Linked DNA regions of Homo sapiens: regions 1 and 2 are each linked to region 3. Evidence: promoter capture Hi-C in 16 types of primary human blood cells and fetal thymus (Javierre and others, 2016). All regions are on one chromosome and are shown on one strand. The core of a region is centred on a gene start or on the middle of the fragment in contact, and the rest is flanking DNA. Distances in the headings are between cores, read along the strand shown.

Region 1 (3,155 bases), core at 1-2,500, 300 kb before region 3:
ACAATGCCTAGTGAAGTCAGTTAACTTTCTTTTAAGCAATGGTGCCTATTTTACTCTGAGAATGAGACACTTTGAAACTAAGGAAGGAACCAGTCCTGTATCTAGATCAAGACTCATCAGTACCATCAAAAGCTGAGATGAAACAGTGTAAGTTTCAACAGAAATCTTCAATCTCCCATCCGTTGATGTGCAATGCGCTCCTGTGTCAGCCGCTCCAGGTCTTTCTGCACATTTGGGTGGTCTTCCAGATCTTCGTAGAGCGACCTGACGATGTCCAGTCTCCTGTAATTCTCAGGCTTGACTAGGCTCCGGACAACCTGGAGGCATCGCTCTTTCAGAGTATACACTGGAAGGGCAAAAACCAAATCCTCAGTGGCAGACTAGGGTCTCAGTACAAGGAACGAACAAGAGGCTTTGCCAACAACTACCTGTACTACTGATGGATCTCACTTTAGGTTAAAGAAAAAAAGTGAGTGCATGTATGTGGCAGTGTGTTATGCTGATGGCCCCCTATGGACACCTCATGGTGTTCATGCCTCTGTAGTAATTTCACCTTGAAATGGGCTGGGCTTGTGATTGCTTTAACTAACTGAATGTGGATGAAGCGACACTGGCAATTCTAGGCCGAAGCCTTAAAAAGGCCTGCTGACTTCTGCTTTTATACTTTTGAAAGCCCTGAGCTACCCTGCTAGAGAGACCACATAAAGAGGAACAGGCCCTGGCCAGGCATGGTGGTTCATGCCTGTGATCCCAACACTTTGGGAGGCCAACGTCAGTAGATCGCCTGAGCTCAGGAGTTCGAGACCAGCCTGGCAACATGGCGAAACCCCGTCTCTACAAAATACACAAAAAATTAGCCAGGCATGGTGGCACATGCCTGTGGTCCCAGCGACTGGGGAGGCTGAGGTGGGAGGATCACTTGAGCCCTGGAGGCAGAGGTTGCAGTGAGCTAAGATCATGCCACTGCACTCCAACCTGGGTGACAGAGTGAGACCCTATCTTGAAAAAAAAGAAAAAAGAAAAGAGAAAAAAAAAAAAGAGGGACAGGCCCAGCCCCCAGCTGCCAGCAAAAGGCAGCCACACCAACGACTACCACCAGCAGAGTAACTGCCTAGCTGAGCCCAGCCTGGACTACAGAATTATGAACAAATAAAATGGTGGGCTGGGCGCAGTGGCTCACGCCTGTAATCCTAGCACTTTAGGAGGCTGAGGCAGGCAGACTGCCTGAGCTCAAGAGTTCAAGATCAGCCTGGTCAACATGGTGAAACCCCCGTCTCCACTAAAATGCAAAAAATTAGCCAGGCTTGGTGGTGCACACCTGTAGTCCCAGCTGCTGAAGCAGGAGAATCGCTTGAACCCGAGAGGCAGAGGTTGCAGTGAGCCAAGATCACACGCCACTGCACTCCAGCCTGGGTGACACAGTGAGACTCTGTCTCAAAAAAAAAAAAAAGGTGGTTATTAGTTTTGGGGTGGTAGTCACAAAACACATAACCAAAACAATGTGTACTTAGAAAATCTAGGCCGGGCGCGGTGGCTCACGCCTGTAATCCCAGCACTTTGGGAGGCCGAGGCGGGCGGATCACGAGGTCAGGAGATCGAGACCATCCCGGCTAAAACGGTGAAACCCCGTCTCTACTAAAAATACAAAAAATTAGCCGGGCGTAGTGGCGGGCGCCTGTAGTCCCAGCTACTTGGGAGGCTGAGGCAGGAGAATGGCGTGAACCCGGGAGGCGGAGCTTGCAGTGAGCCGAGATCCCGCCACTGCACTCCAGCCTGGGCGACAGAGCGAGACTCCGTCTCAAAAAAAAAAAAAAAAAGAAAATCTAGTACAACTGAATTGGGTATCCCAATTCCTATTTTACACTCACTGGAAACGTACTCGAGGGTATTCTATAAGGCAAATTTACCAAATTTAACTTAGCAATGCTCATTTTTATATATCTACTTCCTTAAAACAGGATCTATACACACATAGTAGTTTGAATCCTATGAAACCCATGTATTTGGGGGGTTTTTGAGTTTTTTTTTTCTTTTTTTGAGACAGGATCTCACTCTGTCACCTGGGCTGGAGTGCAGTGGTATGATCATGGCTCACTGCAGCCTCAAACTCCTGGGCTCAAGGGATCCTCCCACCTAAGCCTCCCAAATAGCTGTGACCACAGGCATATGCTAAGATGCCCAGGTAATTAAAAAAAAATTTTTTTGTGGAGCTGGGGTCTCACTTTGTTGTCCAGGCTGGTCAAGAACTCCTGGTCTCAAGCGACCCTCCCGCCATAGCCTCCCTAAGTGCTGGAATTACAGGCATGATTACAGGCAGGAGCCACCACACACTGCTGGTCTTTAGTGAGGTTTTTTTTACCCACAGGAACATCAGTTTATTAGGGTTTACCCTGATAAAATCATTTGAGCTTCAAACAAATAGTGAAGTATTATACCAATCTTCAATGATTTAAAAAAAAAAAAAAACAGGCTGGACGCAGTGGCTCACGCCTGTAATCCCAGCACTTTGGGAGGCTGAGGTGGGCAGATCACCTGAGGTCAGGAGTTCAAGATCAGCCTGGCCAACATGGTGAAACCTCATCTCTACTAAAAATACAAAAATTAGCCAGGTGTGGTGACAGGCACCTATAACCCCAGCTACCCAGGAGGCTGAGGCAGGAGAATCACTTGAACCCAGGATGCAGAGGTTGCAGTGAGCTGAAATCGCACCACTGCACTCCAGCCTGGATGACACTGTGAGACTCTCTAAAAATAAAAATAAAAAAAAAAAAAACACCTCTGATTGGCACTGTGAGCTTGATTGTGTTAAATTGAAAATACATAGGCCAGGTGCTGTGGCTGATGCCTGTAATCCCAGCACTTTGGGAGGCGTAGGCGGGCAGATCATGAGGTCAGGAGATGGAGACCATCCTGGCTAACACGGTGAAACCCCGTCTCTACTAAAAATACAAAAAATTATCAGAGTGGGTGGCACACGCCTGTAGTCCCAGCTACTCGGGAGGCTGAGACAAGAGAATCACTGGAACCCAGTAGGCGGAGGTTGCAGTGAGCCGAGATTGCGCCACTGCACTCCAGCCTAGCTAACACAGCGAGATTCTGTCTCAAAAAAATAAAAAAAATTAGAAGTCAGCAACAAATAAGCCAAAATATCTCAT
Region 2 (3,185 bases), core at 169-2,668, 320 kb before region 3:
GTGCCTTCCCACGGAATTATCTAGAACTGTGCACCTTGCAATAGAGTGAAAGTAAGTGCTTGTGCTTAGGCCCCATTATACACACTGAATCTATTAGGACACATCTGATCTCAAAACAGGTTGATAGTCATAAATACTGTGATCAAAACAATGTACACTAAAAGTAAATATCTGATTTTAAAACTATAATGGTAAAGTACATTTAATCACAAATATGATAAATAGGCTGGGCACAGTGGCTCACGCCTGTAATCCCAGCACTTTGGGAGGCCGAAGCAGGTGGATCGCCTGAGATCAAGAGTTCCGGAGGCCGGGCGCGGTGGCTCATGCCTGTAATCCCAGCACTTTGGGAGGCCCAGGGTGGGCGGATCACAAGGTCAGGAGATCCAGACCATCCTGGCTAACACGGTGAAACCCCGTCTCTACTAAGAATACAAAGTTAGCCGGGCGTGGTGGCGGGCGCCTGTAGTCCCAGCTACTCAGAAGGCTGAGGCAGGAGAATGGCGTGAACCCGGGAGGCGGAGCTTGCAACGAGCCTAGATCGCGCCACTGCACTCCAGCCTGGGCGACAGAGTGAGACTCCGTCTTAAAAAAAAAAAAAAAAAAAAAAAAAAATAGTTCAAGACCAGTCTGGCCAACATGGTGAAACCCGGTCTCTACTGAAAATACAAAAAATTAGCCAGGGTGGTAGCGGGCGCCTGTAATCCCAGCTACTCGGGAGGCCGAGGCAGGAAAATCGCTTGAATCCCAGAGGTGGAGGTTGCAGTGAGCCGAGACCGTGCCATTGCACTCCAGCCTGGGCAACAACAGCGAAACTCCGTTTCAATATATATATATATGTTAAATCATAGATCCTTCTAATATACACTAAAACTAAACACACCACACACACACACACACACACCCCCCCAAGAAGTGACAGCACCGTGGGTCCCTACAGGGTCGAGGCTCGCACTTTGCAGGCTGTTGTGGGCTGGATGAGAGGCCACCTGGGGACGTCACCGAGCCAGCAGCGCTGACAGGAGGGCCCCCGTACCCACCGTTCTCTGGACTCAGAGCGCAGTGGCGGCGGCCCCTGCTCGTCGACAGACGTCCTCAGAGACCACGCGGCACCTTCAGGTGACAGGCCGAGGTCCGCGGCGGACCCGGTCCAGGAGGCTCAGCTCGCACGCCCTCGGATCGGGACCCGCTGAACCCGGGTGCCCGAGGGAGCTTGGCGGCCGCTCCAGGCGGGATCGCTGGGGGCTCCGGTCGCCCTGGTCCCCTCCCCTCCCCGGGCCGCACTCACCGAACTCCATCCAGTCCCACTCGCTGAGCGCGTCCATGTTGCGGCACAGGTCGTCCAGCACCCAGGAGGGCAGCTGGTAGATGTAGCAGGCCATGGCACGCTACGGGGCCGGCTCCGGCGCGGGACGACTGGGTCGGACACTGCGGGCTGCGGCTTCTCTAGCCAGGGGCGGACCGGCGGGGAAGTGGGCGGGGCGGGAGGGCACCAGCGTCCCCAGCGGCCACGGGCGGCACGACGGCCCCGCCGGCTCCACCCCAGCGCCGGCCAGAGAATCGGAACTGCGAGGGGAAACTGAGGCCCTGGTGGGAGAAGGCCACACGGGAATTCTGCCGCAGCGGCAGGAGGCCTTCTGACCCCACTTCCATCGGCACTACACCATGCATCATGCGCTCATCAAATACTCCATTAATTACCTACTGTATGCCAGGCAACTCCCTAGGTGTTGGTAATACCTGAATAAGAAACCCTACAGCCGGGCGCGGTGGATCACTCCTGTAATCCCAGTACTTTGGGAGGCCGAGGCGGACGGATCACGAGGTCAGGAGTTCGAGACTAGCCTGGCCAATATGGTGAAACCCCGTCACTACTAAAAATACAAAAATTAGCCGGGCACGGTGGCGCACGCCTGTAGTCCCAGCTACCTGGGAGGCTGAGGCAGAAGAATCGCTTGAACCCTGGAGGCGGAGGTTGCAGTAAGCCCAGATTGTGCCCTTGTACTCCAGCCTGGGTGAAGAGTGAGGCTCTGTCTCAAAAAAAAAAAAAAAAAAAAAAAAAAGCCTACAAAAGCCCTTGCTTTCATAAGACTTACAATCTAGGTGTGGAGAGAAAGACTAACAATAAATAATAAATATAGTATGTTACAGAGTGTCTTAAAGGTAATAAGCACTATTGCAAAAAAAAAAAAAAAGGAAAAAAAGTTGGTTAAAGGGAATCAGGAATTCAGATTGAGCATGGGGAATATTCTATTAAATAGGGTAGTCAGGTAGACTTTACTATAGTAGCTAATATGTATCGTGCAGCTACTATGTGCCAGGCACTGTTGTAGGTGCTGGGAATACCTCTGAAGAGAAGGACAAAATCCTTGTCCTGGAGGGAGACAGACAACAAGCAATAAAAATAGGCAGATAAGCTATGTTGGAGAATGAAAGTAGAAGCCTGGGCAACATAGGAAGATCTTATCTCTACAAAAAACTTTTTTTTTTTGAGACGGAGTCTTGCTCTGTAGCCCAGGCTGGAGTGCAGTGGCGCAATCTTGGCTCACTGCAGCCTCTGCCTCCCAGGTCCCGGTTCAAGCAATTCTCCTGCCTCAGTCTCCCGAGTAGCTGGGATTACAGGCACGCGCCACCACGCCCAGCTAATTTTTGTATTTTTAGTAGAGACAGGGTTTCACTGTGTTGGCCAGGATGGTCTTGAACTCCTGACCTCGTGATCCGCCTGCCTCGGCCTCCCAAAGTGCTAGGATTACAGGCATGAGCCACCACGCCTGGCCTCTACAAAAAATTTTAAAATGAGCCAAGCATGGTAGTGTACACCTATAGTCCCAGCTACTCAGGAGGCTAAGGTGGTAGGATCTCTTGAACCCAGGAGTTTGAGGCTGCAGTGAGCTATGACTGCACTGCAGCCTGAGTGACAGAATGAGACCCTGTCTCTGAAAAAAAAAAAAAAAAAAAGAAAGAAAAGAAAGAATAAAAGTAGAGGGTGGTAAAAGGGAGTGCAAGTGGCCAATTGCATTATCTTAGATGATACTATTACTGGGAAAAAAGCAGAGTATGGTGCAGGGGACTGCAGGACAAACTGGATTATTAAATAGGGTATAAGGGGCTGGGTGCGGCGGCTCCCACCTATAACCCCAGCACTTTGGGAGGCAGAGGCAGGCAGATCGCTTGAGCCCAGGAAT
Region 3 (3,076 bases), core at 11-2,510:
GCTACTCAGGAGGCAAAGGCAGGGGAATCGCTTGAACCCGGGAGGTGGAAGTTGCAGTGAGTCGAGATCGGGCCACTGCACTCTAGCCTGGGTGACAGAGCGAGACTCTGTCTCCAAAAAACAAAAACCAAAACACATTAGGAAAATGTTCACACCAAACTCAAAGTGGAGACTGGGGAGGGAGTGAAAACTGGAAGCACGCAGTAAAGGGGAATTTACTTTTATCCCTTTCATTTCTTAAACAAGAAAAACAGGAAACCTATACATATATATATTGTTTCACAATGACTAATTCTGATGGTAGGAATGTGGGCAGTCATTATATTATTCTTTTTTTTCTGTGTTCTTCTACTTTCTTTTTCTTTTTTCTTTTTTTTTTTTTTTTGAGACGGAGTCTCGCTCGTCGCCCAGGCTGGAGTGCAGTGGCACGATCTCGGCTCACTGCAAACTCCGCCTCCCGGGTTCACGCCATTCTCCTGCCTCAGCCTCCCGAGTAGCTGGGACTACAGGCGCCCGCCACCACGCCCGGCTAATTTTTTTGTATTTTTGGTGGAGACGTGGTTTCACCGTGTTAGCCAGGATGGTCTCGATCTCCTGACTTCGAGGGGCCACAGGACTAGTAGAGCCAAGAGTTGAGGGTCCGGGTGGGGTGATCCGGCCGTCAGAAATGCAAAAGCCTGGAAAGACATCTCCAAAGGCCAATCTCAGGTTGGACAATCGTGAGCTGGGGAAGCTGCAAACACTGTGACCTCCGGAATAACCGCTGGTAATCAGTTACCTCTAACCCTTAGCAGAATTCAGGTCCCTCTACTACTCCTAACCTGGTGGCCTTTCATTAACTCTATGAAGCCAGTTTAGTTCGGGGGAAGGGCAATTATCATTTAGACTACGAACTAATTTCTCCCAAAGTTAGCTTGGCCCAAGCCCAGGAATGACCAAGGACCGTTTAGAGGTTAAAGGCAAGCTGCGGGTTGGTTAGATCAGATCTCTTTCGCTGTCATAATTTTGTAATATAATTTTTGCAAAGGCGGCTTCAGGTTTTTTGCTAAGACAGGTTTTTTGATCAGATCAAATTCTTCTGCTACAGCGCTCTCCCTAAAAGCATAGGAAGGCATTTCTGCATTTCCTTCCTGGGCGGAGGAAAAGCCCCGCCTCCTCAGGCTCTGAGTCCCGCCCGGTCACCATTCCGATTGACACTCCAGCTGACCAATCAGCGCGCTGGCTGGAGCGCGGGTCTGCCCCTCTGGACGCACATGCGCGCTGTCCTGGCTCGGGAGATGGACGGCCGCCGTGTTTTGGGCCGGTTCTGGAGTGGCTGGCGGCGGGGCCTGGGTGTCCGCCCAGTGCCCGAGGACGCAGGCTTTGGCACCGAAGCCCGGTGATTAAGTACCCCCTCTCTCATGCGGGACGGAGGCTAGGGCAGGGGGAAGGCACGTGCGGGATCTGGATCAGGTAGATGTTACCCGAAAACAGCCCCGTTGGCCTCTCTGAGCCTCGGTGCCCTCCGCTGTAGAATGGGACCGGTCGTACCTGAATTTTCGAGGTCAGCCCAGACATTGTGAGGCATTTGTCAGAGGCCGCAGGATTTGGGAAGAGGCGTCCGGAGATAGGAATGGGTGGCACCTCGGGATGGAATGACTCCCATTGCTTCTCCCTCCTTGTCCAGGCATCAGAGGCAACCCCGCGGCTCCTGCCAACGGTCGGGGCCCCTCGGGGACCAGCCCTTCGCGGGGCTGCTGCCAAAAAACCTCAGTCGGGAGGAGCTGGTTGATGCGCTGCGGGCAGCCGTGGTGGACCGGAAAGGTGAGGGGTGAGAGGCACGGCCGCACAAGGACCGGGAGGGGACTGCCTCGGCGTGCAGTTGGGCTCTCCATTGAAGCCACGGGATCAGCCCTGCTTCTGCCTCCCACTAGCAGCATGAGCTGGGACAAGCCACCTAATTTGCACCCTCTCCCCGCTTTTAACCCTACTGCCATGATGCAGTAGGGTTAAGAGTGGGGAGAAGATGCAAATAACTACCGAGCCTTGCACATAGCCGGCGCTCAGTTACGGGAGTTGCTATACTAGATTATTGTTTATTGGCCGCGGTGGCTCACGCCTGTAATCCCGGCACTTTAGGGTGCTGACGCGGGCGGATCACCTGAGGTCAGGAGTTCGAGACTAGCCTGGCCAACATGGTGAAACCCCGTCTCTACTAAAAACACAAAAATTAGCCAGGTGTGGCGGCGTCCGCCTGTAATCCCAGCTACTCGGGAGGCTGAGGCAGGAGAGTCACTTGAACCCGGATAGCAGAGGTTGCAGTGAGCCGACATCGTGCTACTGCGCTCCAGCCTGGGATGACAGAGCAAGACTCAGTCTAAATAAATAAATAAATAAATAATGATTATTTATCGACGGACAAAACACAGGCTTTGGAGTCAGACATACCTAGGCTCTGTGATCAGCTTGCTGTGCGGCTTTAGGAAAATAACTGAATTTCTCTGAACCCCACTCTCTATTCAGTGATTTATTCCTTTTCTCAACTATTTCTTGAACATATGCTATGTTCCAGGCACTGTTCTAGGCAGGCTATACAGTGCTGAAAAAGATAGATATGGTTTCTGCTCTCAGGGGAGAAATGGATTTCTCTCTAACGGGAGAAATGGATGTCAGAAAATAAATGAACAAGTTACTAGTGGTAAGTGCTATGCATAAACTAAAACAGGGTGTTATGATGGTGAGGAACTGCAGGAGGAAGGCAGACATTAGATTGGAGATTCAGACCTCTCCGTGATGTGACATTTGAGCCAAGATGATAGGGAGCCAGACCTGGGAAATTTGGGGACAGGAAACAGCAAGTGCCGAGGCTCTGAGGTGGCAGAGGAACAGAAAGAAGTTGAATTTGGTGTGGGGTAGTTAACTCATGTCTGAGAGTCATGATGGGGACATGTGCTAAGATGCGTGAGAAAGTGCTCTGGAAACTCTTTAGTGCTGCATAAAGGGTTACCGTTGCTTTTGCTGATGTTCGTGTGATGTATGTTTCAGGACCTCTAGTGACGTTGAACAAGCCACAGGGTCTACCAGTGACAGGTATGGG

The links. The method cuts DNA at HindIII sites, captures the fragments that hold promoters and counts their contacts. A CHiCAGO score of 5 or more calls a contact.
Region 1: a contact is called between a fragment that was not itself captured here and the fragment with the promoter of RPUSD3 in region 3, in 1 of 17 cell types (total CD8 T cells). The highest score is 6.3, in total CD8 T cells.
Region 2: the fragment with the promoter of IRAK2 here is called in contact with the fragment with the promoter of RPUSD3 in region 3 in 1 of 17 cell types (activated CD4 T cells); the score reaches 5.3 in activated CD4 T cells.

The regions. Positions count from the first base shown.
Region 1 is chr3:10,146,978-10,150,132 of GRCh38, reverse strand. It overlaps VHL (von Hippel-Lindau tumor suppressor), which reads right to left. Exons shown (of 3, transcript NM_000551.4): 3 at 1-346. The coding sequence ends at 168. Among named protein-coding and RNA genes, the nearest start is that of VHL, 6.8 kb to the right of the region's middle. The HindIII fragment of the contact is 5,547 bases long and covers 1-3,155 here.
Region 2 is chr3:10,163,152-10,166,336 of GRCh38, reverse strand. It overlaps IRAK2 (interleukin 1 receptor associated kinase 2), which reads right to left and starts at 1,418. Exons shown (of 13, transcript NM_001570.4): 1 at 1,289-1,418. The coding sequence starts at 1,382. RefSeq lists silencers at 1,104-1,253, 1,454-1,583. The HindIII fragment of the contact is 5,632 bases long and covers 1-3,185 here.
Region 3 is chr3:9,842,192-9,845,267 of GRCh38, reverse strand. RPUSD3 (RNA pseudouridine synthase D3) reads left to right here and starts at 1,260. Exons shown (of 9, transcript NM_173659.5): 1 at 1,260-1,378; 2 at 1,667-1,803; 3 at 3,025-3,069. The coding sequence starts at 1,278. RefSeq lists an enhancer at 1,318-1,397. The HindIII fragment of the contact is 7,859 bases long and covers 1-3,076 here.